Regions from separate parts of the Homo sapiens genome. Here regions 2, 3 and 4 are each linked to region 1. Evidence: promoter capture Hi-C in 16 types of primary human blood cells and fetal thymus (Javierre and others, 2016). All regions are on one chromosome and are shown on one strand. Each heading gives the region's core, a stretch centred on a gene start or on the middle of the fragment in contact. The rest is flanking DNA. Distances are from core to core; before and after follow the strand shown.

Region 1 (6,965 bases), core at 3,079-5,578:
ATCTGTTCAAGTTGGCCACAAAGTTTTACGGGGGGGGATTGTTTTTGTTTTTATTTTTTGAGGCATGGTCTTGCTCTGTTACTCAGGCTGGAGTGCAGTGGCAAAATAATGTATCACTGCAGCCTTGACCTCCAGGCTCAAGTGATCCTCCCGAGTAGCTGGGACTACAGGCACACGCCACCACACCTAGCTAATTTTTTTTTTTTTTTAATGTAGAGACCGGGTTTTGCCCTGTTGCCTACTCTGGTCTTGAATTCCTGGGCTCAAGCTATCTGCCTGCCTCGGCCTCCCAAAGTGCCGGGATTACAGGTGTGAGCCGCCGAGGGGCCTGGGGGAGTGGGGTGGATTCTAATTGGAAAAATGGAGGCTCACCTTATTTTCAGAAGCACCTTATACTCAGGCATATGTAGTGTATGCTGATGACTCACTTCTCCAGTCCTATCTCCCTGCTAAACTCCAGATCCAAGTAATGAACGGCTTACTGATATTTCTACTCAGATGTATTTAAAGTACCTATGTATGCATAGGTACTTTAAATTTCCTTGTCCAAAGTTAAACTAACATTGTCTCCCATCTGCTCATCTTTCTCATTCCCCCCTCAGTGAATGCCACCACCTTCATTCAGCTTCCCAAGTTGAAATCTGAGTTACCCACATCTCCTATCTCTCCCACACACCCCTGCTGTTTCTATCTATCTCCTAAATCTCTCTCTTATCTGTTCACTTTTCTTAATCCCCTTTGCTTTACTCCAGGCCACCATCATCTCCTCCCTAGACTATTGTAACAAAATCTGAACTGTTTTTTTTTTTTTTTGGTCTCGACTTCTTCCAAACTACACTCCAAGAAGCAGCCTCAGTGTTCCCTCTAAAACGCAAATCTGAGGTCAAATCCCACCTGTAGGCGTGGCTGACTCCTATCTACCTTCAGGTCTCTGTTTAGAGGCCAAAGCTTCTCTAATTCTCCTTCTCCCACCCCCACACACAATTTAGTCAAGTTAGATGCTCTTACTAAGTTTTCCCACACTCCTTATCTTTCCTTACCATAACAGTCTTTACACTTCTTTGTTATAATTGTTTACCCTTTCTGCTAGACTGGGAACTTTGTTTATCTGGCTCATCACTGTCTTCCCTTAACATAAGCCAGGACCAGAGACACAGGATGTACTTTATAAATATTAAATGAATGAACCAATAATTTTGTTATCCCAGCATCCAGCACAATACTTGGTGAAAACAGGTCCTCAATAATTTTTGCTGAATTAATAGATTGTTGTTGAACTAAAGATATGTGATCAACTAAGCAACATGTGACAAGCAAAATTAATATTGAGCATGCTTGTACTTAAAAAGGAGCACACATCCTTTTTAATTACGCTTAATCAGAGATGGCTCCCTAGAGCAGGTGGCTTCTGAAGGAGAACGGGAGAAAATAAAAATTCTTACCTAGTGGAATGTAAAGGGCAAATATAAAAATAACAATCTCTGTGCAGAAGAAAATCACTTTCTTAAGACTGGGGCAACTTCTAGTTGAAGTCTGCTGTGACTAGGAAGTGTTCTATCCTGAGATCTGCTAGTCAGGGGACTAGCTTTCTTCTTCTCAACCTCGGACACTGGGATTCAGCCAGGGAATCAGCTGCAGAATCTCATTACTGCCAGCAGTTAAACACTGAATTGTACGTCCTTTCTAATGTTGAAAAAAAAATCCTTTTACTATAGAGAATAAGATTCCTACCAAGTTTTATATTCATAGGCTTTAATATTTCATGTAATTTTTATATCAAAATACATTAGCATAAATTTCACAAGATATCAGTCTAGTTATTTTTGGCCTGCATTTCGATAACTTTTACAGACACACAATGGCCACTCTGTTTTCTTTGCTCTAAAGTTTCTTTGTGCACTTATTCCTTGAACATGGGCCTCATGTTCTAACTTTACTTAGATGAAAAAACTGTTAATTTCACCAGTGGTTTAATATCTCTTCATAGATTGATAGTTTAGACAACATAAAAGTGTTGATTAGCAGTATACGTGCAGGCTGAAGTATTTGTTGAAAATCTTGTTGGGAGAATAAGAATGATAAAAGAGATGCCTAAGAAAATCTTTTCTCAGATATGCTTTACTAAACAAAGAACAGGTTAATTACTCAATGATGATTTTTAAAGGGCATGTCGACAGTGTCAGTGACTTTGAAACAAAGTAAAGGAGCTGAATTCAAGTGTGTGCCTGAGTTACTTAACTATCTTGAACTGATTTAGGATCTGTAGCTTTAATCTGGGGCTCCATCTACTAGTGGTTTAATAGAGTGGGTTTTATTAAAATTGTGATTTAATCAGAAGCCAGAAATATACAACTGTTTTAAACTTTTTGATATTAACCTGATATACACAGTGGGCTGATAAATTAGTGAGACAGTTCATATAAGTCATATATGAAAATCAGTCTGTTATTAGCCACAACTCATGTATTTTTCAAAACTTGGAGATAAATGTAAGCTTCATCTCAGAAGTCATATTACACGTTATAGGTTTAATATAATGAAATTTTTCCAGACTTAGAAAAGATATCAGGAAATTAACATTTGCAAGGCAATTTACAGTTTTCAAAGAGCTTTTCTCATTAATTATCTCAGAAAACTGAATAATGATGTGATTATTAAAGGTTAATTAAGCAAATACTTGTGAAGTAATTGGGAGGTAATCTATTTCTAATTTAACAGGTCAATCACGGGTATTTAGGAAATATTTTTGCTGGTTAACAACTCTAACCAAAACAAAAAGGTATTTAAATGGTTTCCCTAGTGAAAAACCATAAGCATGTGTTTCCTCTATTAAGTCAATTGTTTCAAAGAACTAGCATGAGAATTCCTAATTTCACCGTTTTGATGATTTAAGGTTTTATGAAGATTCTGAGCTCTTCCCTCCCGACGTTAATCCATGTCTTACATTGTTCATTTTGGCGCTTTAGAATAAAATATCTTTGGAAAGTAACTATGAGAAAGCACAGAGGGATATGTTAGTGAAATAGCCATTTTCTTGTGGGAAGCAAGACATTTCGGTTATCGACTACACAGAAGAGTGAATAAAACCCAACGCCTATCAACCACCAAACGTGACTCTGCTTGCATAATCATACAAATAAATTTTCTTTAAAAATTTTTCATGGGTGCAGTATATAAAATGATCAATAGTCTCATCAGCAGTGGAACTACAAACTGCTTTCTCCTAACTTTGTGTAGCCTGGGTGCTGCCTCACGATTACTAAGTGGTTTAAAATCATATCCCACTTGCTCCTTGGTTTATCAGCGAAAGACGTGATTCCCAGGTAGGAAAACGCCAAGTGTCCCGCAAAGGTACAGGTAAAACGTAGCAGTTACTGCGAGAAGACTGGCCCCGGGGAGTCCCAGGGCTCGGTCGGGGCCCCCGCACGAGCTGAGGAAGTGGACAGCGGGCACCTTTGTCTGTGCCTAGTTCCCTGGACCCGGGCCGAGCGATGCGGGTGGGGGCGCGGTTCGGGCGGGTCCCGGCGCTGCCCGGGGGAAGCGCGCGGCGACGGCGGCCCGGCTTGGGAGCCGGAGGTCAGCGGCTGCGCGGCCGGCCCCCTCCCACGGGAGCCGCGCCAGGGCCCAGCAAGAGTCGGGCGGGATCGCTATTGTTTTTGGCGAGCACATAAATCCCCGGGCCGACCCACTGCGCACCCAGGTTTCCTCCCGGAGGCCTTTCGGTTTCCTCTGAGGCCCTATATAGAGGCTCCAGGCCCGGACTGTGCAGAGGTGCGCGCCCACGCCGGCCTCCCGGACCAGCCTGAGCTCGGAGCGCCTCTCGCCCTCAGGTCTCTGCAGCCAGAGGCATCTGGGGAGGTGAGGGGGGAATTTGTCCCCGAGGCGAGGAGGAGGAGGCGGGGGCGCGCGGAGCCGAGGGGCTGCGGCGAGCGGGCGGGAGGAGCAGGAGGATCCGCTTCTCCGGGGTTTCCCTGACGCCAGCAGCAGCGCCCGGCGCGCGCGCCCCGCACCCGTCAGCGGCTCCGGGGAGAAGGGGGAGGGGAGCGGGCCCGCCACGGCCCGAGAGGCGGCAGCCGGGATTGGAGCGGGGGCGGGCCGCGCGCGGAGCCGAGGGGGTGCGGGCGAGGCGCGCGCGTGCGCGTGTGCGCGCCCGGGACTCCCGCCCCCCGCCCCCGCCCCCGCCCCCGCCGTCCGCGGTCTCCGCCCCCCTCGCGCTGGTGTGTGGAGCCGGAGTCGGCGGCGGGTGGCGGCGCCTGGAACCTGGAGACCGACCCACCGCCCCCCCCCCCCCGCCCCGGAATGTACTGACTCCCCTTCTTCGCTCTCCTCCCCTCCCCGCCCCCTTGCAGGAGGGAGGCGCCCTGGAGTCTCCCCTCCAGCGAGAGGGGCTGCGCGGGCCGGGCCGGGCCGGGCTGGGCTGGAGCAGCGGCGGCCGCGGGAGCCGAGCTTGCAGCGAGGGACCGGCTGAGGCGCGCGGGAGGGAAGGAGGCAAGGGCTCCGCGGCGCTGTCGCCGCCGCTGCCGCTCACTCTCGGGGAAGAGATGGCGGCGGAGCGGGGAGCCCGGCGACTCCTCAGCACCCCCTCCTTCTGGCTCTACTGCCTGCTGCTGCTCGGGCGCCGGGCGCCGGGCGCCGCGGCCGCCAGGAGCGGCTCCGCGCCGCAGTCCCCAGGTAAGCGGCGGGCGCGGGCCCGGGGGTTCGCGGGGGCGCGGCACCGGCTCAGGCGGCCGCGGCTGCGGTGTTTTTGTTTAGGATCCAGGAGGAAACGTGCAGGAACTTCTCTGCCTCGGCTCCGGTTGCCGAAGAGAAAGGGGATCGCGCGTGGTGGGGAGGAGAAGGGCGAGAGGGGGCGCCACCGGGGAAGGGGCGGCTGCCGGGGGGCAGGTCGGGGGCGCAGGGGTCTAGTTCCCAGCTTTGTACCTGGAGGCAGGTTCACCCCTCGCCTCTCTCCCCTCCCCCAGGCTCATCCCACTTGTAAGAGTGGGACATTCTTGTGCTCACACTAGCACCAGTAGAGGCCACTACACACCTCATTAAATAAACAATCAGACGGCCAATTCATTAATTTTCAGGAAAGGAAAGGGGAGGGGGCTTGAGCTCCTGGTTCCCTGGCCAGGGATTTCCCAGCTTCCGAAGTCTCGAGGAAGAGCTGGCTAGTCTCGAGGGACTCCTCGCGCGGGGATTGGAGCCCGAGTCTGCGGAAGAGCGGGGGTGTCAGAGGGGCACAATTGCCCGCTCACAACCCCTGGTGTTGATTTAACGATGAGGACGCCTTGGAGAGCGGCTCGGAGTGATCGTATCTGTTAGTGTTTCCGTTATGAAATGCCTCTTCTTTCCTGGGGATTACAACTATATTTACAGCCTATTAACCACTCTTAACCAAGGGAATTGTCTAAGCATCAGATTTTAGGTACTTGTACAATGTTTTCAGATGGCATTGTATAAACATTGAACCTCAAAAGCCATTTTCAGTTCTTTTTTGGAATATTATAGATTACTGAAACCACCTGCATTCCTATTAAGGGGACCAACGAACAAAAATGCCAAGCCTTCCGGGAAGGACCTTACGGTATTGTTGAGCAGGATACACTCAGCAGTTGAAAGGCAAATTAGCATGTAATCTGTTAAAATTATTTGACCAAGGTGGTGTACCATAAAACTTGACAAAACTTTCACTCGTGTGAGATATGATATTTTTACATTTGAAAGCAGTCTTACCGCTGAACCAGTACTTGTTTTTCCCTGATTTATATGAAATAATATTTAAAATCACACTGCAAGGTAACTTGACTGATAAACTTTTCATTTCCTTGCAGAGTGTGTATGTAGCTCATGGCTTTTGCCAATGTTAAAGAACAGCTTTAAACGTAAAGTACCACTCGGTATTCTCTAAACAGCTACGTAAACAATAGTGTTTTAATGTCAAATTAAACATCACTTATGTCATGATGTACCCTTATACATTCAGTCCGTATATGGTTTAGAACACATTTTGGTGCTGAAATGCAGGTTACTGATCCAACTGTCTCTTAGATGAGCAAGAGAAATATAACTATTTTGGAAAACAAGTTCCTGTTACTCATGATCTATTTTATATGGAAATTCATATGTAGTTCACCAAATTTCAAGTTTTTGTTTAAAGTTTTGCCGATAATTTTGTAAGTAACTAAAATGCTAGTAATTTTATTACTTAGGATAATAAAAATAATGCAAGCAGTCTCAGGAAGTGGTCTTAACATCTGTTTCAACATTAACTCAATTGACAGGTTTTTATTTTGCACAGATGAGGTGCAAGGCATATGCTCTCTGCCTTCATGGAGTTTACAGTCTGGTGTGTGGGTAGGAAAGATAGCCATCCATCTACTGATTATATAATTAAGTAATTGTGATAAGCACTACAAAGGAGAATAGGTTTTCACAAAGTGGGTACTGGAGTGACATAACCTAGTCTGGGTGTTAAGAGTGTCTCACAAGAACTGAGATCTGAGGAGTGGGTAGGAGTGGAGGTGGGGAGGCTCACAGGTAATTAGTCGTTTAATTGGGTCTAGAACATAGATCTCCTGATTCTCGGTCCAGAGTCCTTCCTGTAAACCGCTCTGCTTCATTACAAAAGCGAGAGGAATAACTGCAATAAGGAGGGGTTGGTCAGTTCTGCCATAAAACTGCGGAAGAGATCAAGAGACTGGAGAACTGAGTAAGCAGCAACTGGAACAAGCTGTCCGCAAATCAGATGTCCTTTGTCAGTAGTTTTATTTTTTTTATTTTTGTAGAGTGATAGACTTATAAATCTTTTTATAGGGGATTATAGTGAATAGATTGTAGGGAAGTGGACATGTTCAGTAGTAGAAGGTGGAGAAAAATAGAGATGTGGGACAATAGGATAAATGGAAAGTGTTTTTCCATCTGAGGTTATAGACATACGGAGGTGGAGGAAAAAGTAAGAAGTAAAGGACTGGTGATAGAAA
Region 2 (6,965 bases), core at 2,128-4,627, 220 kb before region 1:
TTTCGACAGTCTAGGCTTAAAATTCCTCCAGCCTCTACCCATCACCCAATTCCAAAGCCCTTACATATTTTAGGCAGCACCACTTCTTGGTACCAAAATCTGTATCCGTTGTCTAGAGCTGTTGTAACAAGTTACCACCAACTAGGTGGCTTAGACCAATAGAAGTTTATCATCTCACAGTTCAGGAGGCCAGAAGTCCCAGATTAAGCTGTCAGCAGAGTTGGATCCTTCTGGAGGTTGTGAGGGAGGACACGTTCCATGCGTCTCCCTGGCTTCTGGTGGTCCCTGGCAACCTTTGGCATTTCATGTCTTGTAGTTGCCTCACTCCAATATCTGTCTCCATCTTTACATGACTATCTTCCCCATGTTTGTCCTCTGTGTCACTTTATGGCCTTCTTAGAAGGATACCAGAAGGTCCACCCTAAACCAATATAATGTCATTTTAGCAAATTACATTTGCAAAGACCTTATTTCCGAATAAGGTCACATTCTGAGGTCCTGGGGTTGACATGCATTTTGGGGGGCACACTATTCAACCCTGTACAAATATTCATTAATTTCTTAACTCCTACAACCCTCTGAAGAATACTTGCATAGATGCGTGAGAGAGGAATGAATTTATTTCAGAAGAGACTGTAGGAAATACCTGGTCCCATGTTTGGTCCAAGGCTGTGATACCCTCCATAGTATTCATTGTGATCTTTCTTCTCTTCCTGGACTTTTTCAGTGCAGTGTTCCCGGGTTATCCCAACTAAAAATTCAACCCATCTTGTACCCTGATTGGGATTGACACTAAGTCCCTTGTCCTTGCTTTATTTTCTTTCTAGCATTTATCACTATTAACAAAACTTATATTTTACTTATTTCTTTTGTTCATTGTTTGCCTTCCCCACTGGGATAGCCTCTGTGAGGGCAAAGATTTTTGTTCATGTATCCACTTCTATATTCTCAGCACTCAGAACAGTGTCTGGTGCATAGTAGGTGCTCAATAAAAAGTTGTCATATAACTGAATGCATGCGTGAATGAAAGGACTCCTGGAAACTGGGCATCTAGCTGTTGTGGACAGGGAGCCCGTTCTTTCACTGGGCAAATTTTGCCATTTTTAGTCATGTAGTGAATCCTTAGAAGAGGCAGGGCCAGGCCTCCAGAGTCCTTGCTTTGAGCCTCATGGGTCTGTTGGACAGTTTCAGAATCTTAGGAAATAATTGGGGTGGTTGGTTGGCTGGAGGAGAAAATGAAATAAGAGTTGGGATTCTCTGGGGCTGCCACTGACCCACTGGGTCATCTTGACAACTTTGTTCTGTCTCTCCTGGCCCCTGGCTCCCTGACCTCAGCCTCCTTCACTTGGCTATCTGGAAAGCAGTTACTTTCTCTCCTGGCCCCCCGTTTTCTCTCTTTGGCATGTGGGAATTAAAGACAAAAGGTCTCAAAATCACTTTGAACTCCATGGAGGGTGCCAAATAATCTGAGGACATTATTAGTATAAGACAATTCCTTTGAAAATGGAAATTGCGTATCACACAATCTCTCAAACACAGGGTGGAATTAATGAGCAATTTGCTCAAGATTCACAACTTCAAAATGATCTTCCAGGTGGCCAAAGGAAATTCACATTTACACTTCAATCAGAAATTTTTTTGTAGAATGTAAGGGGGGAGGGTTTAATTTTCTGAGATCACAAATGCCTATCCCCATCCCAAGGAGAAGAGAGCCCGTGATAAAGACCGCCCTGGTATCTGTGAACTCTCCAGCTAATTAGAAAAGTGAATCTAATTTCATGGATTTCAGCTCCTATTAATTTATCCTAAGCTTGTTGGTAATGAAGCCATGTGTTTGTTTCTTAAGAAGGAAACATCAGAGAGGAAGAGAATGGGTGTGAGGCTGTGCTGTTTATTCCCTTACCTTCAATCTATTAATTGAGGAAATAACATATGATTTAATATATATTACAATGTCATCAACACAGCACTTGCTTTAGCTACTGATGGAGCCCTGTGTGGTTATCTCACATAGGCTTACAGTGCCTGCCACAGCTAAGAAAGAAGGAATAACTGACAGGGAAGTGACCAACAGGGTCTGCTACCTTCCTAATTTCTACTGCTTCATTCTATCCTGTAATATTCAGCAAACATCTATTGAACACCTTCCATGTTCCAGGCAAGCTAGGCTTGAACAAGACTGATAGGGATTTTAGAACCTATGTACGACCATCTTAAACACATAATTATTCCAAATGATTATTTACAATTGTGATAAGGACTTTGAAAAAGAAGTAGTGTGTTTTGTACTTCCCCTTTCCACATAGATATCTTGTTAGCCAGCTAGAGAGGAAACTTAAGACATCAGAGACTGGCCTGAGCTGTCTTTCATAAATCCTCTGTAATCATTACAAGACAAAGCTCACCTTGGTACCTAGATATTATGTAGAGTATTAACTGCTCAGAGTTTAGCAGTAGAGATTAGTAAAAGTAAGTAAATGTTCAAATAAGTGTAAAATTCTGAAACAGACTAGTATCAACAGTATCTGGACAAACTTGGCACTAAACAAAGCAAACTGGAGGCTCTGGCCTCTGAGATGAGAAAGTTCGTCCCCAGATACAACACAGAGACTGACAAGAGTAGACAACAGAGTCTAGCTCAAGACAGAAGTGTTAAATTCTAGTGCCATGGCCAACATTAGCCCCTTGTTTCAGGAGATTTACATGTAAGATTTTCTCAACATCAGCCATGGTTAGAACTGTAGTCCCGAGGGAAACCAGCCATTCATTTCAGGGAAATGTGGGTGTTGACAAGGGAACCCTTGCAGGAGTGTTCTACAGGTGGTCTCCATCCTGCCCAGTAAGACTTGGCTATGGGAGTGAGCTGTGTGAGGGGGGCCAGGCAAACAGCGATGAGATCCCTTTATGTGGAAAATTATATTTTCCCAAAGTGGCCACAATCTGTTTCCTGTTTTTTGAGAACTTGCTACTGCTCCATCAAGATGTGGATTCTGTGTCTCCTCTCCTTGAAGCCGGATGGCCCTTTGTGACTGCCTTGATGAATTAAATGTGGTGCAAGTGATGCTGCATGACTTTGAGGCTAGGTCATGAAAGGAGATGTGACATCTGTCCCACTTGCATATTTATATTCTCTCTCTCTTTCTCTCTCTCTCAGTGCTTGCCCTTGGAACCTAATCTCCATAGTGTGAGGAAGTTCAGGCCATGGAAAGACTACAGGAGACATGAGGGGAAGTCTGCAGGGGGACTTTTGAGAAACGTTTCCTCACTTCTAATAAATAGCTCAGGAAAATATGGTTTCTCTTCTTTGTCCAGCTGTGATGCCTGGGAACTTCTGTGGCAACCTTGCTTCCAGCCAATACACAGAGTGGGGCAACTCTCAGAAAACCATTGAGAAGAGAGTCAGAGTGCTGAAGTACCGTGTCTGGAATCCTGTCTTCCCAACTCCGTGTTTCCTGATCTATCAGGTAATAAACCCTCTTACATGCTAAGATACTTTGAGTTGAGGCGTTCTGTTACTTGTAGCTGAAGTAACATTCTCCCTGATTTGGAATCTGCTCCCTGAGGGCTTTGGTCAGTTCCTGCCCTCTATGTGTGTTCTGGGGACCTGGGCTCTCCCACAGGAGTCATTAGGCTGCAGAGAGCCCCCCAGAGCTGTGCTTTGGGAGTCAGAACAGAGACTTCTGGAGTTGGATCCATTTTCTAGGAGTGTTCATGATTTCAGCAGAACCTGTTTTATTACTTCTTCTAGGGTTACATGTGTGAGCTGAGCCTTTGTACTTTAGAGATCATTTCCTGAGAATGAGAAGTGGAGAAGGGGGCAGGGAGTCATCCTTTATTTGTTATAGTCCCAGAGACAGGTGACATGAGAGACTTTCCTTGGTGGCAGAGGATGAAGGAGGAGGGCATGAACTGTGGAGTCAGATCCAGGATTGAACCTTGACACCTTCCTTGCAGGCTGTGTGACCTTAGGATGGTCACTTCACCTTTCTAGTTCTCAGTGATCACATCTTAAAGTGGAAGTACTAGTCCTATTTCAGAGGATGCAATTGGAGGTTTACAGCCTGTTATCTGATCTGCAACTATGTTTAGTCAGCTGACTGAGTGGTTTTTTTTGAAAAAATTGAGTTTATTCACGGGTGTTTACAAATATAAAAACTTACCAACTTGTAAACTTCAAATATCTGGAGTGTGTTGTATGTCAGTTATACCTCAATGAAGCTGTTAAAAGTTGAATTTGTTGTTTACAATCAGGAACGCTGGAATGTTGGTTTCTTTGGGGGAAAAGAGGGGAAATATTTGGCAATGCTGAGCCCACCTTTTTGTGAGGTTGCAGAGGGCTACCTCCTTCAGACAAGGCATCCCTGCTTCAGTTTGCCATGGTCCCACCAGCACCTCTTGCTCAGAGTGAGTTTTGCTGCTGGCCCTCTGGATTTGAGTTTGTGACCTCTGACCTACCTCATGTATTTATATGTAAGCCTGGATACTCAGAGAGTGGTCTGTAGACCAGCTGCATCCTGAGAGCTTGTTAGCAGTACAGAATCTCAGGCCTCACCCCAGGCCTCCTGAATCAAAATTGCCTTTAAACAAGATCCTTGCACATTCCTTGTGATCCTTGTGATTCTTTGCACCTTCAAATTTAAAAAGCACTGCCTCTGATGATCAGAAATCATGTCTAAAAGTCATCTGGCCCAGAGTAGGCACCCACTAAGGGTAAACTCTTGCTGTGTCATTTAATCCACAGGGCAGTTCATTGTTCAGAGGAGCTCACACTTAAACTGTACTCAGTGATTCTCCTGGATCTCACAGCCAATAGGGGGCAGAGCTGGGATTCAAACACAGGGCTGTGACAGAGATTTATGCTCTTCCCTCTCTACCACCTGCCCCCCTAAGAAGAGAAAGAAAGCATATGCAGAGGGAGAAGCCATAGAAATCACCTAGGAGACCCAAGCTTATCTCTGGGGATAAGATCAGCCCTGTAGAGCAGGTGGCAGGCTCTCCCCAGGGCTACCTGAAGTTTCACTCCTTTCTCTCAGGGCATGGCCCAGAGCTTGGTGCAGAGTACAGTCTCAATGAGGAAGGGGGAAAGGGAGGAGATAAGGGAGGAGGGGGAAGAGGAGCAGGGGAGGAAGGAGGGATGATATCAAACAGGCATGTCTTCAGTTACCTGCCCAGCCCCATGCCCTGGGTGAAAGATAGTGCATTAGTCCATGTTCACACTACTATAAAGATACTACCTGAGACTGGATAATTTATAAAGAAAAGAGGTTTAATTGACTCACAGTTCTGCATGGCTGGGGAGGCCTCAGGAAACTTACAATCATGGTGGAAAGCAAAGGGGAAGCAGGCACTTTCTTTACAAGGTGGCAGGAGAGAGAGCACGTGGAGGACATGCCACGCTTGTAAACCATGGGATCTCATAAGAGCTCCCTCACCATCGCAAGAACAGCATGGGGGAAACCGTGTCCATGATCCTGTCACTTCCCACCAGATCCCTCCCTCAACATATGGGGATTACAATTCAAGATGAGATTTGGATGGGGCCACAGAGCCAGGCCATACCATATCAGATGGTTTATCCATTAGGACTTGCATTCAGTCAAGAGATGGAATTTAAACCTGTAAGTATTTATTATTTTTTTAACCCCACACAACAAGAGTGATAAGTAGTGGTAGTGTTTTAGTGGTTCAAAGATTTGGATCCGCAGTCTCTGTTTCTCTTGGCCATTTCCTCATGGTCACAAGATGGCTGCTGCAGCCCCACTTATCAGGACGTGGGCAGGAAGAGAGGAAAGCAAGTCTTTCTTAGAAACCTTTTAATGTATGTATGTCTTATTGGCCAGAGGTAGGCTAGAAAATATAATGTTTAATTTAGCCTTTTTTTTTTTTTTTGAGACAGAGTCTTGCTCTGTCACCCAGGCTGGGGTACAATGGTGCAATCTCTGCTCACTGCAACCTCCACCACCTCCTGGGTTCAAGCAATTCTCCTACCTCAGCCTCCCAAGTAGCTTGGATTACAGGTGCGCACAACCACGCCTGGTTAATTTTTTTTTTTTTTTTTTTAGTAGAGACAGGTTTTCACCATGTTGGCCGGGCTGGTCTTGAACTCTTGACCTCAAGTGATCTGCCCGCCTCAGCCTACCAAAGTGCTGGGATTACAGGCATGAGCCACTGCGCTTGACCTGTTTAATTTAGTTTTGTCTTTAGCTGGGACTCTTTGTTCTGTTGATCCCTTTCTCCACCCCCACCTTCCTGACAAATGAGGTTTATACTAACAAGAAAGGAGGACACGGTTATTGAGTAGACATCTGGCAATGTCTGCCACGAATGGGAACATAGGACCTAATTCCTGATTCCTTGTTGACCTGGAGTAGTTCTCCCTAGTCTGGAGGTAGCTTGCGCACTCTCTTGGGCTCAGCTTTGCTCTGGGAATGAGAAGCTGTGCCTCCTTTTGTCCCTCCCAATGCTGTGGCCCAGCAAGGCCTTTGGAGAGAATCCATGTGTCTGGGGACAGCTGGACCACAGCCTCCCCACCCTGGCTGCACACCTGTTGGAAGCTATATTTAGAGCAGTAAGTCTAAATCTTGGGGCAAGGAGAAGAGAGAAGCCAAAGGGGCAAGAAAAAAATGAAAGATGCAGCCCAGAAAAATGGGATGTTATTCCCTGTTGTGCACAGCCACAGCCTACTCTGGGCTGGTTCTTAAGAAGAAGGAAGGAATAGCTGTGGGCACTTGTGGGGGCCAGGCTGGAATTAGGAAAACCGCTGTTCACAGGATTTGGAGAGTTATAAACTCTGCCTGCGCTGGCATGAAGGTCTGTCCTGAAAAGTCCTAAAACCCCTTCTAGAATTGTAGAACTGGGGCCCCTGAACCTTTTGACTGTGGCACTCACAGGCAGGGTATAAGACTTCGTGCTCTCCCCTCCCCTCAAATTTCCACTCAGGAAAAAACTCAAGGATTATAAAGAAT
Region 3 (6,965 bases), core at 1,157-3,656, 190 kb before region 1:
AAGGCTAAGGAGCTGCAGCAAGGGTGGGCAATTGCAGGGGAAGTTGTCCCTCGAGCACCCCCCAGCCACCCAGGTCTGCCTCACAGAAGGCCGCCTGTGCTTCTGTGGCTCAGCCCCTCTCCTGCTGTCAGCTGCAGGCCTGGCCTGGCCAGCGTGGAGGAAATAAAAGAGAACTGTTCTCGGCCTGGAGCTTCCACTAGGGCAGCATTGGGAGGTGGCAGTGCACACCCTTCCCCTGTTGCCTCACTTGCCCTGTCCCAGCCTCCCTAGGCTCTGGAGGGGAGCCTCTGCTGGCCCACGGCTCACAGGGCCCTTCTCTGGGGGTTGTTTCTATAAGGAGGACCACCACTTAAACTGTAACAGAAGAGGCTCACATTTCTGGTGTGGGGACGGGCTAATTTTTAGAGACTCTAAGCCAGGCAGATCTTCCAGCAGTAGCACAGTATCCTTTATTGAGGGGTGGGGAGTGGAGTGAAGGCTATTGACAAGTCAAAGTCCAGAAAACCTGCATTTCTTCTCCTCTCTCCCTATCATTAACCCAGAGGGCCTGCCTTGTCCTGGGCCTAATGAAGCTATTCGGAGTCTAGAGCTGGCTTCCCTGGGAAGGATAGTCGAGGGACACCTGCAGGCGTTTTGCTTCTTGCTTTCTCAGACCTTGTTCTCTCTCAAATCTGCTCTCCGTAGGCAAAATATGGGGAAGATTGGTGCTCTTCCATCAGGCCCCATGACCCTCCTTTGTGGAAATGAGCAGCACGGGCCAGTCTTCTAGAAAGATTGTCTTTCCGACGCTTCCTGTAGGCAGGTCCAAGGCTGTTGTTCTTTGCCTGTCACCTCCGTGGAGCCACTGCTTCCGTCCCAAGAGCTTGGGTAGTAGGCTTCTGGTCTGGAAAGTTCTTACTGGCACTAGCAGAGTCACAGGCATTCACTGGGGAGGGGGCCAGGTGAGGCTGGAGTCTTGTTTGAAAAGCAGAGTTGGGATGCCTTTAGAATAATCAGTGGTGAATCCTCACATGGCCTCAGTCCCTGCGTCCCTGAGCCCTGCACCCAGCATGTTGTACGTCCACGTGTTTTTGTGTGTTTGCGTGTACAGATGCTCCTTGACTTATGATGGGGTTATGTCCCCATCAACCCCATTGTAATTCAAAAATATTGTAAGTTGAAAATGCACAGCCGGGCGCGGTGGCTCACGCCTGTAATCCCAGCACTTTGGGAGGCCAAGGCAGGTGGATCATGAGGTCAGGAGTTCGAGACCAGCCTGACCAACATGGTGAAACTCCATCTCTACTAAAAATACAAAAATTAGCCGGGTATGGTGGCATGCGCCTGTAATCCCACCTACTCAGGAAACTGAGGCAGGAGAATTGCTTGAACCCGGGAGGCAGGGGTTGCAGTGAGCCAAGATCATGCCACTGCACTCCAGCCTGGGTGACAGAGTGAGACTCCATCTCAAAAAAAAAAAAAAAGAAAAAGAAAATGCACTTAATACCCTGATAAACCTATCTAAGGTTGAAAAATCTTAAATCCAACCATAATAAGTTGGGGCCCATCTATAAAGGCGATAAAAGTGGGGACTCCTACCTGGCAAGTAGCCCCATAGTTAAAGAAATTGAAAATTTTCCCTAATGCAGATCATCTGTCATCTATCTACCTATCTAATCCCTAATAAAATCTACTATCTATCTATCTATCTATCTATCTATCTATCTATCTATCTATCCATCCATCCATCCATCCATCCATCCATCCATCCATCCATCCATCCATCAACATCTATCTATCTTCAATGGCCAAGTAGCTCTGCATATCAAGGAACTCATAATCTAGTTACAAAGACCAAAATCACAAATGAGACGATTAACAGATACCATGAGACTGTTATACAGTTATGCTGAGATACCTTTTATAAATGCCCCAGGGATTCAGAAAAGGAAATCAGAATAGCTGATAAAAGCTTCATTAAGGAGAGGGGATTGACCAGGGCCTTGGAGGGTAAGAGAGAATTTGAATGGGCAAAAAGTGTGTGTGTGTTTGTGTGTATGGAGAAGTTATAAGGGGGCCGGGATAGGGAGGACATGAGGAAGGGCCCAGAGGCAGTAAGGATGCGGAATGTAGGGTGAGGAGGGAAGGAGACAGCTGACCATGTGCAGAGCGTGGGGGGAGAAGTTGTGAAATCAGGGACAGATTGTGAAGACAGACTTAGCGCAGGTGGCAGCGGGGCAGGCAGTGGGTCTCTGGTCCACGTCAGACAGGGGCTGCATGAGTGATCTGAGCTGTTACATGCCCTTCTCACCTGTTCTTCAGCCTCCCAGGCAAAAATGGGGACTTACCAGGTAGGAGTCCCCGCTTTTATCTGAGTCCTAGACCTTCTACTTCAAGCCTCTCAGGGCTGCTTTCTCTCTTCCCTTCCATCTTTACTCAGCTTTCCAAGAGCCTCTACTCCTTGTCCTTCAGTTCTGTTATACTCCAGCCATTTGCTGTCTTTGTGCCTATATTGACACAGCTGAGCACTACCCCAAAGCCTCCCATGGCCATGTGCATTGGAGCCATTGTAACTTCATTGTCTCCAACAGTTCCCTCCATGACTAGTAATCTTTCTATGTCTCTAATGGCCTCTGTTTCCTGCTCCACACAGGCCATTACAATTCTTCTCTCAGACTCCAACCCCACCATTCCCCTGCCTGCTGCCCTGCAGCCCCTGTCACCATCAGCAATAACCTTGCGAATGCCCCAACTTCCTGCCATCAAACCTAAACCTCTCTGAACTTGCACCTATATTTTCCTTCTCTCTCCTGACACCACAGATAAATCTGAGCCCTTCTCTCATTTTTCAGGGACCACTCTTCCCTCCCTTGCTTATATCTGTAAGCTTTACCTCTCTGCTGGTCTCTTCCCATCAACATTTCAATATGTTCAAGGCTTTATTATCTTAAAAAAAAAAACCCTCAAGTTTTCTCCTTTACTTTCCATCTTTCCCCCTTTGTCATCTCCTTTCTTTCTTTCGCAACCACATTTCCTGAGTGTTTTCTGCCATCATTGTCTCACTCCCTTCCATGCCTACTCTTCAACACTTGGTCATTAAATTTCTGTCCCATCCTGTCCATTGAGATTGATTTCCTCAAAATCATTGGGACATGCTTCTGCTAAATCCAATGGGCATTTCCATTTCCTGTTTGTGTGACCCGCTAGCTGCACTTGGCACTGTGGACCATTCCCTTCTTCCGAGTCTCACTTCCTTTGTCTTCTGTCACTCTCCCTATTTTCTTCCCATCTCTCTGGTCACTAATTTTTTGTCTCCTTTAATGCTTTTGCTGAATGTTGCTTGAATGTTCCTGCCCTTTGGGATCCTTCCTTAGGCCCTCTGCTCTTGTCAGCCTTCATACTTTGACCAGGCTCTGTCAGCGTCTAACCACGATGACATCTATATAGTCAGGACTTTGGGTTGCAAATGACAGCAACCCAATTCACACTAGCTCAAGCAAAACTAAAGAGAAATGTTTGGCTAGCATAATAGGCTAGTTTAGAAGTAGAGTGAAACTCGGCATGTCTGGATCTAAGGACTCAAATGATGTTGTCAGGCCTCTTTCTCTCTGTATTAGTTTGTTCTCACGCTGCTAATAAAGACATACCCTAGAGTGGGTAATTTATAAAGGAAAGAGGTTTGATTGACTCATAGTTCCACATAGCTGACAAGGCCTCACAATCACGGCAGAAGGCGACTGAGGAGCAAAGTCACATCTTACATGGCAGCAGGCAAGATAGCTTGTGCAGGGGAACTCTTATTTATAAAACCACCAGATCTTGTGAGACTTACTCATTACCACGAGAACAGTATGGGGGAAACCATCGCCATGATTCAATTATCTCCACCTGGGCCCGCCCTTGACATGTGGGGATTATTATAATTCAAGATGATATTTGGGTGGGGACACAGCCAAAACATATCACTCTCCCACCATTTCCACTCCAGCCCTGTCTCTATCATTGTCTTGGCCTCATTCTCTTCTGTTGCACAGGATTTCTCATGGAGTCTGGGGAGGGCACAGGGTGATCATAAATGACTCGGCCTTTTAGCATCCTAGATAACTACTCTGGAGGAAAGAAAGAACTTCTTCTCCCATTCCTGGGAAAGGACAGTGGTTGATCTAACTGGAGTCACATGCTGACTCAAAGGACCTGAATGAATTTGGGGTAGTAAGAATTGCCAGCCCCCCTGGACCACATGGAATTGTGGAAGAACAGATCCCTAAAGAAAAAAAGAGTGCTACTGCCAGAAGAAGGGAGAGGAATACAGGATGCACAAAGCAGATATTTACCATAAAAGCTCCTATTTATGTTTTCCCATCCAGACCTTTACCCTGCATTTCAGAATTATAGATATCTTCATTTGGATGTTGCAAACTCAGCAAGTCTTTCTTTACACAAATTTCCTAGAAAATAAATCCCTACACAAAATGCCTATGGTAAGGCTGTATTGGGTGGTACAAATCCAGGGTAGCAAAGTATAAGAGAAGTAGGCACATGGGGCAGAGGAGGAGGGAAGCAAACATGAGATGGTGTGTTACCGAGTGTTTGGGGTTGAATTGTGTCCTCAGAAAGATATGTTGAAGTCCTAACTCCTAGCACTGCAAATGTGCCCTTATTTGGAAATAGGGTCTTTGCAGATGTGGTTAATTATATTAAGAGGAAGGCTAGCTGGATTAGACGGGATATGATTGGTGTCCTTATAAGAAGAGGAAAGGGCACGCAGAGGGGAGGAGGCCATTTGAAGACAGAGGCAGAGATGGAGTAAAGCTGCCACAAGCCAAGGAACACCTGGGGCCCCCAGATGCTGTAAGAGGCAAGAAAGGATTCTCCCCTAGAGCCCTCAGAGGTAGCATGGCCCTGCCAGCATCTTGATTTCCAACTTCTGGCCTCCAGAACTGTGAAAGAATAAATTTCTGTTGTTTCAAGCCACCCAGTTTGTGGTACTTTTTTACGGCAGCACTAGGAAGTGACTGCACCAAGCTAGCCACAACTTCGTTAAAAATGCAGGCAATTTTGGGAGGCCAAGGTGGGAGGATTGCTTGAGGCCAAGAGTTCAAGACCAACTGGGGCAACATAGTGAGATCTCCATCTCTAAAATAATAATAAAAAAAATTAGCAGGGCATGGTGGTGCTTGCCTGTAGTCCCAGCTACTTTGGAGGCTGGAGGCTGAGGTGGGAGGATCATTTGATCCCAGGAGTTTGAGGCTGCAGTGAGCCATGATCACACCACTGCATTCCAGCCTGGGCAACATAGTGAGACCCTGTCTCAAAAAGAAATAAAATAAAAATGCAGCCTGTTGCTTGGGCACATGGAAAGTTTTATAAACAGGACTAACAGAAGAACCATGCCTTGGAACACTTCTTTGGGGTTGGGGGTAGAGAGAAAAAGATTTAGCTGGTGGCTTCTTTCTGTACTTATAAGCCAGGTCTGTTTCATGGTTAACTCCCACCCATTTCTGGGTTGTGTTAATTGGCCCCTCCAGGGATCCACTGGAGAAACCAGACCGCAAGCTTTCAGTCTGGTGCTTCAGCTGGACCAAAAAGTGATCAGAGAAGCCGTAGTCTCCAACGGGTTCAGCCAAGTCCAGGGATGACTGGAGCTTGAAAGAGCTGTTGATGAAGACAGAGTGGGATGAGGCAGAAAAGCTGTAGTACATTATGGCATACAAAGAACTAGAGATGCAGCTTTGCCTAGGAACCTGGTGGATGAGCTGCAGGACCTGGGCTGGAAAAGAATTAAGCATTTGTGGCAGCTGCCCATGGAACATGTGGAGAATGTGCTGGTGGCATTGCTACCCAAGTCCACCTCCTGCCTACTACATGACAAGCCAGTGTCCTTGTTACGGCTGCACTATAAGCAGTTCAGATCGCCAAAGGGCACTGCTCTAAGTCCAACTTGATGTGGGATGAGATGAGCGTACACTCATGATTGCAGCTGGAGATCCTCATTGACCAATGATTAAGACCTGTGGGGTAGACGGAGATCAGCAAATCTTGGGGTATGTATATAACAAGGCTTAGTATAACATCCAAAGTGCATTCATCTTCCCTCTACTCTAAACACAAACCTGCTATTTCTGTGCTTCCTGATTCAATGATTGGTAGCACCAGAGACTCAGTAACTTGAGCCAGAAATTCAGAGTTGTTCTTGACTTTTCTCTTTTCTCCCGTGTTCAATCCTTTACCAAATGCAGTCAGTTCTGCCTCCAAAATATCTCTTGACTCTGACCACTTTCTGTCCCCATTACCACATACTCTTCCAGGCCACCTTCTTTTTTACCTTGGATATTGCAATAGGCTCCAGATGCACTCCTTACCTTTTGTCTCATTCACCTCCAAAATGTGCCCCTCCCTGCAGGCAGCATGATCTTCCCAAACACAGACTAATCAAGTTACACCCGATAGACAGTTCTTCCAAGGCTCTTTGTTGCTCTTTGTATAAAGATCCAAACACAAGTCCCCTGAAGCTCTGGCTGCCATGTAATCCCTTGCCTCTTGTCTTGCCACTTCTTGTCTTAAGTGCTACAATACAGCCAGGCTGAACTTCTTGTGGCCTTTGTACCTATGATCTCATTTCATCTATCTGTTCACTCCTCCAGCGAGTGTCTGGTGAGCGCCTGCTATGCCCCGCAGTGGCAGGCACTGCGATCCCAGCAGGGATGCTCTTGCTCTTGAGCCTTTGCACATGCTGTACCTCCTGCCTGGAATGTTCTCCCCTTGTGTAGAAAAAGCAAACAGACTGCTCACAATCTTCTCCCTTGCCTTCCTATTATAGAGATTAGAAAACGAAGACTCAGCTTTCCTTGTAGAGGACACACAGTTCTGGCCAGTGAGATCAAGGCAGAAGTCCATAGAGAGGGCATCCTTTCCTGAATAAAAGTCCTCACTAAAGGCTTTCTGCCTTTCTCTCTGCTTTCCACCAGGAACACGACTGTAAAGCC
Region 4 (6,965 bases), core at 2,497-4,996, 190 kb after region 1:
CAGATAAGGAAACTGACATCAGAGTGATTTACCCAACCTCGCATATTAGAAGAGTCAAGTTTTGAACATAAGTCTTTGTACTCGAAGTCCTGGGCTCTTTCCGGTATGCTCTGCTGCCTCTCACACAGCAAACTTTCTCTCCTCTCTAGCCAGTAGATAGTTGGGAAGAATTAAGTTTGGTGAGTTGGGTCAGAATTGGAGGCAGCTTAGTGTGTTTCTAGATGGACATGCAAATGAGGCTGCAAAGCAAGACTGTTCAGGCTACTTTTTGAATCATTTCCCAATAAGGGTTTTTAATGACTTTTAATTTTACAATAATCGGAGATCCATATTTTCATTTGCATCTCATTTATTCCATAGGTGTTGAATTGTGACTTTAAACACAGCATATTCAAAACCAAATTCATAATCTCCCCCTCAATCTGTTGTCTTCTCTGTTAATGACACCTCAGGCTCCACAGTCTCCTAAGCTAGTAACTTGGAAGTCTTTGACTCCTTCCTAACCTTTATCTCAGCATCTAATCCTATCGTTTCCAGCCTACCTCATAGGGTTATTGTGTGAGTAAACTGACAAAATATATAAAGACAAACTCTGAAAGCTGTGAATGAGAGGTATTTATTTCCTCTAAGGCAGTGCATCTGTTGATGTGTACAGTACTACAAGGCCTCAGCAACCATTCAGAGTTAATGTTTTGTAGTGTTGACACTTGCTTTAGTGAAGCATGTACTTAACGTCGGGGCTAAAACTGCATTATCTTACATTCTTATAACAATCTGCACTCTTAAAAGCACTACCAAGGGAGGAGAAAAAAAAAGGGAGCATGAGAGAGAACAAGGCTCTCTTTTGTGATTTGCACAAGAACTGGAAGTCAAGTTTTCAGACTCTGCTTGGCTATATCCAGAGGTCTTTTAAACTGAAAACCAAAGTTGATTTTATTAATACCACTCCACCACTCATTCTCTGTGACCTAGGGCAAGTGATTTAGCAATGTCAGTCTCTACATATAAGTTAGAGATAATGATTGTACCTATTTTATAGAGCTGCTGTAAGGATTGAATGATCTATATAGAGAGCCAGAGTGCCATATGTAAGGTATTCAAGAAGTGGTAGCTATTGGATTACTCTTCTCCCTTTCCACCTATCTAGAGATTTTAGGTTGGTCCTCCTTTGCCATTTCCCTGAGATAGATAATTTATTTCACGTGGCGTATTTATTTAGACTGCATCACATTACACTCTCGCAGTTCACAGACATTTCCAGGAGGTTGTTGCTCCACCACTTCATTCAAAACTAGGTTCACGGTTTTCATGTTTTCCTCTCTACATCTCTCCTACTAATTTCCCTTTTAATGTTCGAACATGATTCTGATGAAGTCTTTCAGTTAAAAATTGTGAGATTAAACTTGTACTCTCTAACTCCGAAGTGAAAGAGATTTTAGGTTCAATATTAGGAATAAAATTCTACTATCAGGACTGTTGTTTTTGTTTTTCATCAGTAGCATGGGCTGCCTTGGAAGTTATGAAGTTACCCATGGCTACCGCTATACAAAAGTGGCTTTTGACTAGCAGCTTTGCCTCGCCACTGCTTCCTTTCTCCCATCCAGTCCTTGAGGTCTGCAAGCTGTTTCAGTATACATCGCAGTGAAGAGTGTAACAAACAGATTAGCTACCTGACTTGCAATTTTTTGGCTTTGGAATTTTTGGTTCAGGATTTTATACTGTCCTAGCTAAATGAATTGACAAAACAGCAAGGTATAACTTACAATGAAGAAGTTTATCAACCTTCCCCCGCAGGATTACCAAATACAGAGGTGCAGGGTTTAATATTAGACTAAAGTTGAAGATGTGGCCCTCAATTCTCCTGCAAAGGAGCTCTGCAGTGAAGTCACAATAGCCATGAGCCTCTCAGTGTAACTAGGGTCATCCATACTATTCCATATGTTAAAGTAGAAGAAAATAGTGAAGTCTTGTCATTTGCAAGACTTTTATGCAAAGTTTGACAGATGTTGCATGCTGCTTTCAGGATTAAGAAAATTACATGGGCACTGCTGTGCCTTCTGTGAGAAGTTTTATTCTCAGCTGTCACCCTCCTTGTCCCTTGCCCATAACCATTATAGTGGCCAGAAAGTCTGCTTGCTCTACAGTGATGTGTTTTGAATAGTGCCCATTAGTTTTCAGTAGTTACCCTGGCCTGCATGTTAGCCTTCAGTTTAATGGCCTTTTTTATGTTCATTCATTTTATTTTATTTCCCATCGTGGTTTTGTTTATTTCTTTTTTGTTTTTTGTTTTTTCTGTTCTCTTTTTTAAAACCGTCGTGGTTTGCCCTTCATATTCCCCAATGTTTGCACATGACAAGATGTTGCCATCCCAACATTACCTCCCACTTCACTGACCAGTGCCACTACTGACCATCTAGCACCAGCCACAACGGGACCACTGCCTTCAGCTCCTCGGGATGTCGTGGCCTCCCTGGTCTCTACCCGCTTCATCAAATTGACGTGGCGGACACCTGCATCAGATCCTCACGGAGACAACCTTACCTACTCTGTGTTCTACACCAAGGAAGGGATTGCTAGGTAAGTGCCTGTGTGTCTGCAGCCAGTTGGCTGCCTCTTGGTCACGGCAGCCTTGTCATGCTCACCCTGGCTCTTGGTATCTGTACCAATTTTTAGTCCAGAAAATAAGATCACTGAGATGCACCTTCCCTAATTTTAGGTCATTAAATAAACTCCCAAACAGACTAAAGTCCTGGTAGTCTCTCCTTTTCTGGGATGACTTAGGGAGAGGGTAGATACAGCTATTGAGGTGGACGTATTTAAATGTAAGAAGGAGTGCCCTTTTTTCATAAGATTCAGTCAGTATAAATTCTAGAGATTAAGGTAGACTTAATTTATTAAAGTAAACTTAAATGAATATTTGCCACACCCTTATGTGGTGTGGGCTGCGGAGCTCCAGGGGTTCTCCTTGATGGAATAAGAGTAGTTAGTGATGACTTTTCCTAAAATAGCATTTTCATTACATTCCTCTTCATTTCCACCCCCTCAGGAGCTCACATTGCTCATAGGGGAAGATCTATAATGTCCAGGCTGCTTTGTGCCACAGGCTGGCTTCACTTTATCTGTCCAACTTGCTTTTCCTTTTTCCCCAATGTAACTGACTTTCTAGTGAAACCAGTCTAATCACTATAGCCTTTTTTTCCAGTGTGTCCTCTTCAGTCACTTCTTGCCCCTTTCTCAGCTGAAGGTAAATTCAGTTAATCCTTCTTGGCCCAGGTTAAGCCCCATGAAGCTCTCAAAGATCTTTACCCACCTTTTCAGCACATAGAGCATTTCCCTTGTACGTGTATTTGTATCCCTAATATTGGCACTTGATTATGGTAATATGTGATATTTTACTACCTTAAGCTGTTATTCTTCAATTATGTTCTATGTATTTGTGCTGTTTTCCCAACCAGATTATAAACTCTTTGGAAGGAACCATGCCACATGCTGACTGTTCACACATTGCCGAGTAGTAAATTCCTTCACTGTGCTCTTCCAACCAGAATAAGAAAGCTAAGATACGTGTTTTAGTAGGAGCCCTAATACATCAGCTAAAGCTTGTATTTCCATTAGCATGCTTATAGTTGATGTACATTGTAGTTAATACCAGACTGGCAAGTTTAGCAAGTGCAGGACCCTTTCTTTAATACTCTCAAGAAGTCTAAGTGGCATAATTTAACACCAACAGATGGGAGTTACCTGAATGCTATACTGTGTGTTTTGAGTTTTACAAGGGTAGAGAAACATAGTTCTATACATAAAAAAAGGTAAGACATTCCTACCAAACAGCAAGTTTCAATATCACCATTAAAATATCTTCAATAGACTTTGAAATCTCATTGAAAATCTCATAAGCTTTCACAGAAGGAAGAAACCATTTAGTAATTCTGCGTAATAAGCTTTATTTCTGCAGTAGGTTTTTTGCTCTTATTGTGCGTTCTACCAGAAATGCATTTTCCTCACATGAGTTACATCTGGCTTCTTATCTATCATCTTTAGATGACATCTCCTCAGGCCTTCCCTGAATACCAACCCAAACTTAGCCCCTCGGTGACTGTCACACAGTGGGGTATCAGAGCCAGCCTGTTCCCAAGCTAATTGTTAAATGCTCGGGAAATTTTGCAAACCTAATGACATGACTTGGCAGCTTGAAATTGGGCATGGTGGGAGTGTTTACAGTGACAAATGCTGCAAACCAGAGCCAATTGTTAAACATTCACCAGAACACCACTGCTGTCACATCACCCTATTTTTTGGTATGTGTGTGGTATTTTTTTGTTTGTTTCGCTTTTAGTTTGGGTTTTTTTTTTTTTTTTTTTTTTTTTTTTTGAGAGCACTTACTACTCTCTGAAATTTTCTCTTTTATTAGCTTATTTATTCTGTCTGTCTTGTTCAATAAAATTCTCCAGCACCTGGAACAGAGCCTGGCATTTAGTAACACTCAGTAAATATTTATTAAGTTAATACATTAATTTCAATTCGTGGAGAAATAATAGATAATTCAAGTAATCATGTTGAGATTGATTATCCATTTGGTGGGAAAAATAAAAGTTATGTCTCTGTCTTAAATTATAGATGGATTAAGAGATAAATATTTTTAAAATCTATAAATATATTAGAAGAAAATATAGAAATGATTTTTATCATTTGGAGAACAGGAAAGGGCTTTTAAAGGGAGATAGCAAATCCAGAAGCCATAACAGGAAAGAGTAACAAAGTTACAAATTATAAATAAAAGATATCCCAAGAGACAAATAATACAAGCAGATGATTCATAGTACTGGAAAGCCCATTAGAGTTAAAAAAAGGTTTTCACCATCTCAGGCGATCTTGGAAGCAAAATGATGGGGGTTTTTTTGTTTGTTTTTATTTTGTTTTGTTTTGTTTTGTTTTGGAGACAAAGGTCTCGCTGGGTCACCCAGGCTGGAGTGCAGTGGCACTATATTGGCTCACTGCAGCCTCCGCTTCCCAGGTTCCAGCGATTCTCCTGCCTCAGCCTCCCAAGTAGCTGGAATTACAGGTGCCTGCCACCATGCCTGGGTAATTTTTGTATTTTTAGTAGAGATGGGGTTTCACCGTGTTAGCCAGGCTGGTATCGGACTCCTGACCTCAGGCGATCCACTTCAGCCTCCCAAAGTGCTGGAATTACAGGCATGAGCCACTGTGCCTGGCCAAGTTATCATTTTTCATCTATAAAGCTGGCAAAAATTTTAAGTTGATAATATCCAGTGTTCAATGAGTTGACAGCTAGGAGGAAAACCACTCTAGGTTATTGGTGGCAGTATAAATTAGAATAGTCTAGGGAAGGTGATTTGGCAGAATTTTAAAATATTTTAAATATACATAGCCTTCCATCACACTTCTAGGTAACTGTCCTATAGACATACAGATATATGTATGCATTGGGCCCTCATACAAACACGTTTATTTATAGCATTGTTTGCAAGATTATAAAAGGAGACTATGTAAATATCCACTGATAGAAGAATGGGCACCTAATATACAATCGTGCATCACATAACAACGCTTCAGTCAGACAGACTGCGTATACAATGGTGATCCCATAAGATTATACCACTGTCTTTTTACTGTACCTTTTCTGTGTTTAGACACATAGACACTTGCCATTGTGTTCGCATTGCCTACAGCGTTCAGTACAGTAACATGCTGTGCAGGTTCGTAGCCTAGAAGCAATAGGCTATCCCATACAGCCTAGGTGTGTGGGATATACACCTAGCTATACCATCGAGGTTTGCATAAGTGCATTCTGTGATGTTCACACGATGAAATCACGTGATGCATTTGTCAGAACATATCCCTGTTGTTAAGCAGTGCATGACTGTATGTATACCCGTAAGTATGGTGGCAGCAGTTTTTTTTAAATGACCTGTCTGTATATTTTGATGTGTATGTAAATGCCTAAAGCAGTGATCCTCAACCAGGGACAGTTTTGCCCCCTCATCCCTCGGGATATTTGGCAATGCCTGGTACAGCGTCAGTAAGTACCAGTAGAGGTACTTACTGACATCTAGTGGATAGAGGCCAGGGATGCTGATGAACATCCTGCCATGCACAGGACAGTCCCACAACAAAGAATTATCCTGCCCAATGTCTCAGTAGTGCCAAGGTTGAGAAACCCTGGCATGGAGACTGTCTGGTGAGATATGCGTCAATATGTGCCACAGTCAGCTCTCAGGGCAGGACAGGTTTTGACAAAAGAGAATTGAGACTTATTTTTTTTTAACTGTGTGTACTTTTATATTTAAATGTTTTCAATGAGACACACTTATTTAAATTTTATGATAGATTGTGGGTTGGAGTAAGCAGGAATGATTAGTAAATTAATTTGTAGTTGGAAGAGATACAGAAGTTGAGTTGGCAGGGGCAGGTGGGCATGACTAGTGTATGTAAAGGAAGAGGAAGTGCAAGGTAAGGCCATCTGTGTGTATGCTGTGAGAAGGATGCAAAGGCAAGAAAGCTGGCCAAACTGGCCCAGAGCTTTTGGCAGAAATTAGTAAGAGATTAGAATAAAGTGGACGTTTGGAGCCAGATGCTGGAATGCCAGTGAGAATTTGGACATAATCAGATAAGAAGGGACCATTTTTGACTGTTAAGAAAGTTGTACACTGTGATTTTATTAAACAGTACTTTGGGAACACTACCCAAGATTAAAGGAGAGAAAAAATAGAGTCAGGGAGACAAAATTGGGTAGTAATTATGTTAGCCTAGATACGTGCTAGTCGTCGGCTTGGATGAAGATGAAAGCAGCGACTTGAAGTGGATAGGACAAATTTGGGAAATATTTAAAAGGAAGATTTTGGGAGACCATAATAGTTTTTTGTTGCTTCATTACTTTATGATTTCTGAATAGAGGCAATGAAGGAGAAGTTAATTTTTTTAAGTCGTAAGACTATATCCTGGCT

What was found. The method cuts DNA at HindIII sites, captures the fragments that hold promoters and counts their contacts. A CHiCAGO score of 5 or more calls a contact.
Region 2: a contact is called between a fragment that was not itself captured here and the fragment with the promoter of NEO1 in region 1, in 1 of 17 cell types (M2 macrophages). The highest score is 5.6, in M2 macrophages.
Region 3: a fragment that was not itself captured here is called in contact with the fragment with the promoter of NEO1 in region 1 in 1 of 17 cell types (endothelial precursors); the score reaches 5.1 in endothelial precursors.
Region 4: a contact is called between a fragment that was not itself captured here and the fragment with the promoter of NEO1 in region 1, in 1 of 17 cell types (megakaryocytes). The highest score is 5.1, in megakaryocytes.

The regions. Positions count from the first base shown.
Region 1 is chr15:73,048,135-73,055,099 of GRCh38, forward strand. It overlaps NEO1 (neogenin 1), which reads left to right and starts at 4,329. Exons shown (of 29, transcript NM_002499.4): 1 at 4,329-4,671. The coding sequence starts at 4,542. RefSeq lists silencers at 3,449-3,498, 3,559-3,628, 3,719-4,038, 4,269-4,648. The HindIII fragment of the contact is 4,913 bases long and covers 2,493-6,965 here.
Region 2 is chr15:72,830,636-72,837,600 of GRCh38, forward strand. LOC107984801 (a long non-coding RNA gene) reads left to right here and starts at 3,313. Exons shown (of 3, transcript XR_001751596.2): 1 at 3,313-3,464. RefSeq lists an enhancer at 4,395-4,896. The HindIII fragment of the contact is 3,138 bases long and covers 1,809-4,946 here.
Region 3 is chr15:72,859,061-72,866,025 of GRCh38, forward strand. It overlaps LOC107984801 (a long non-coding RNA gene), which reads left to right. Exons shown (of 3, transcript XR_001751596.2): 3 at 1-522. Among named protein-coding and RNA genes, the nearest start is that of ADPGK, 79 kb to the left of the region's middle. The HindIII fragment of the contact is 915 bases long and covers 1,950-2,864 here.
Region 4 is chr15:73,233,930-73,240,894 of GRCh38, forward strand. It overlaps NEO1 (neogenin 1), which reads left to right. Exons shown (of 29, transcript NM_002499.4): 8 at 2,418-2,577. Among named protein-coding and RNA genes, the nearest start is that of MIR12135, 62 kb to the right of the region's middle. The HindIII fragment of the contact is 298 bases long and covers 3,598-3,895 here.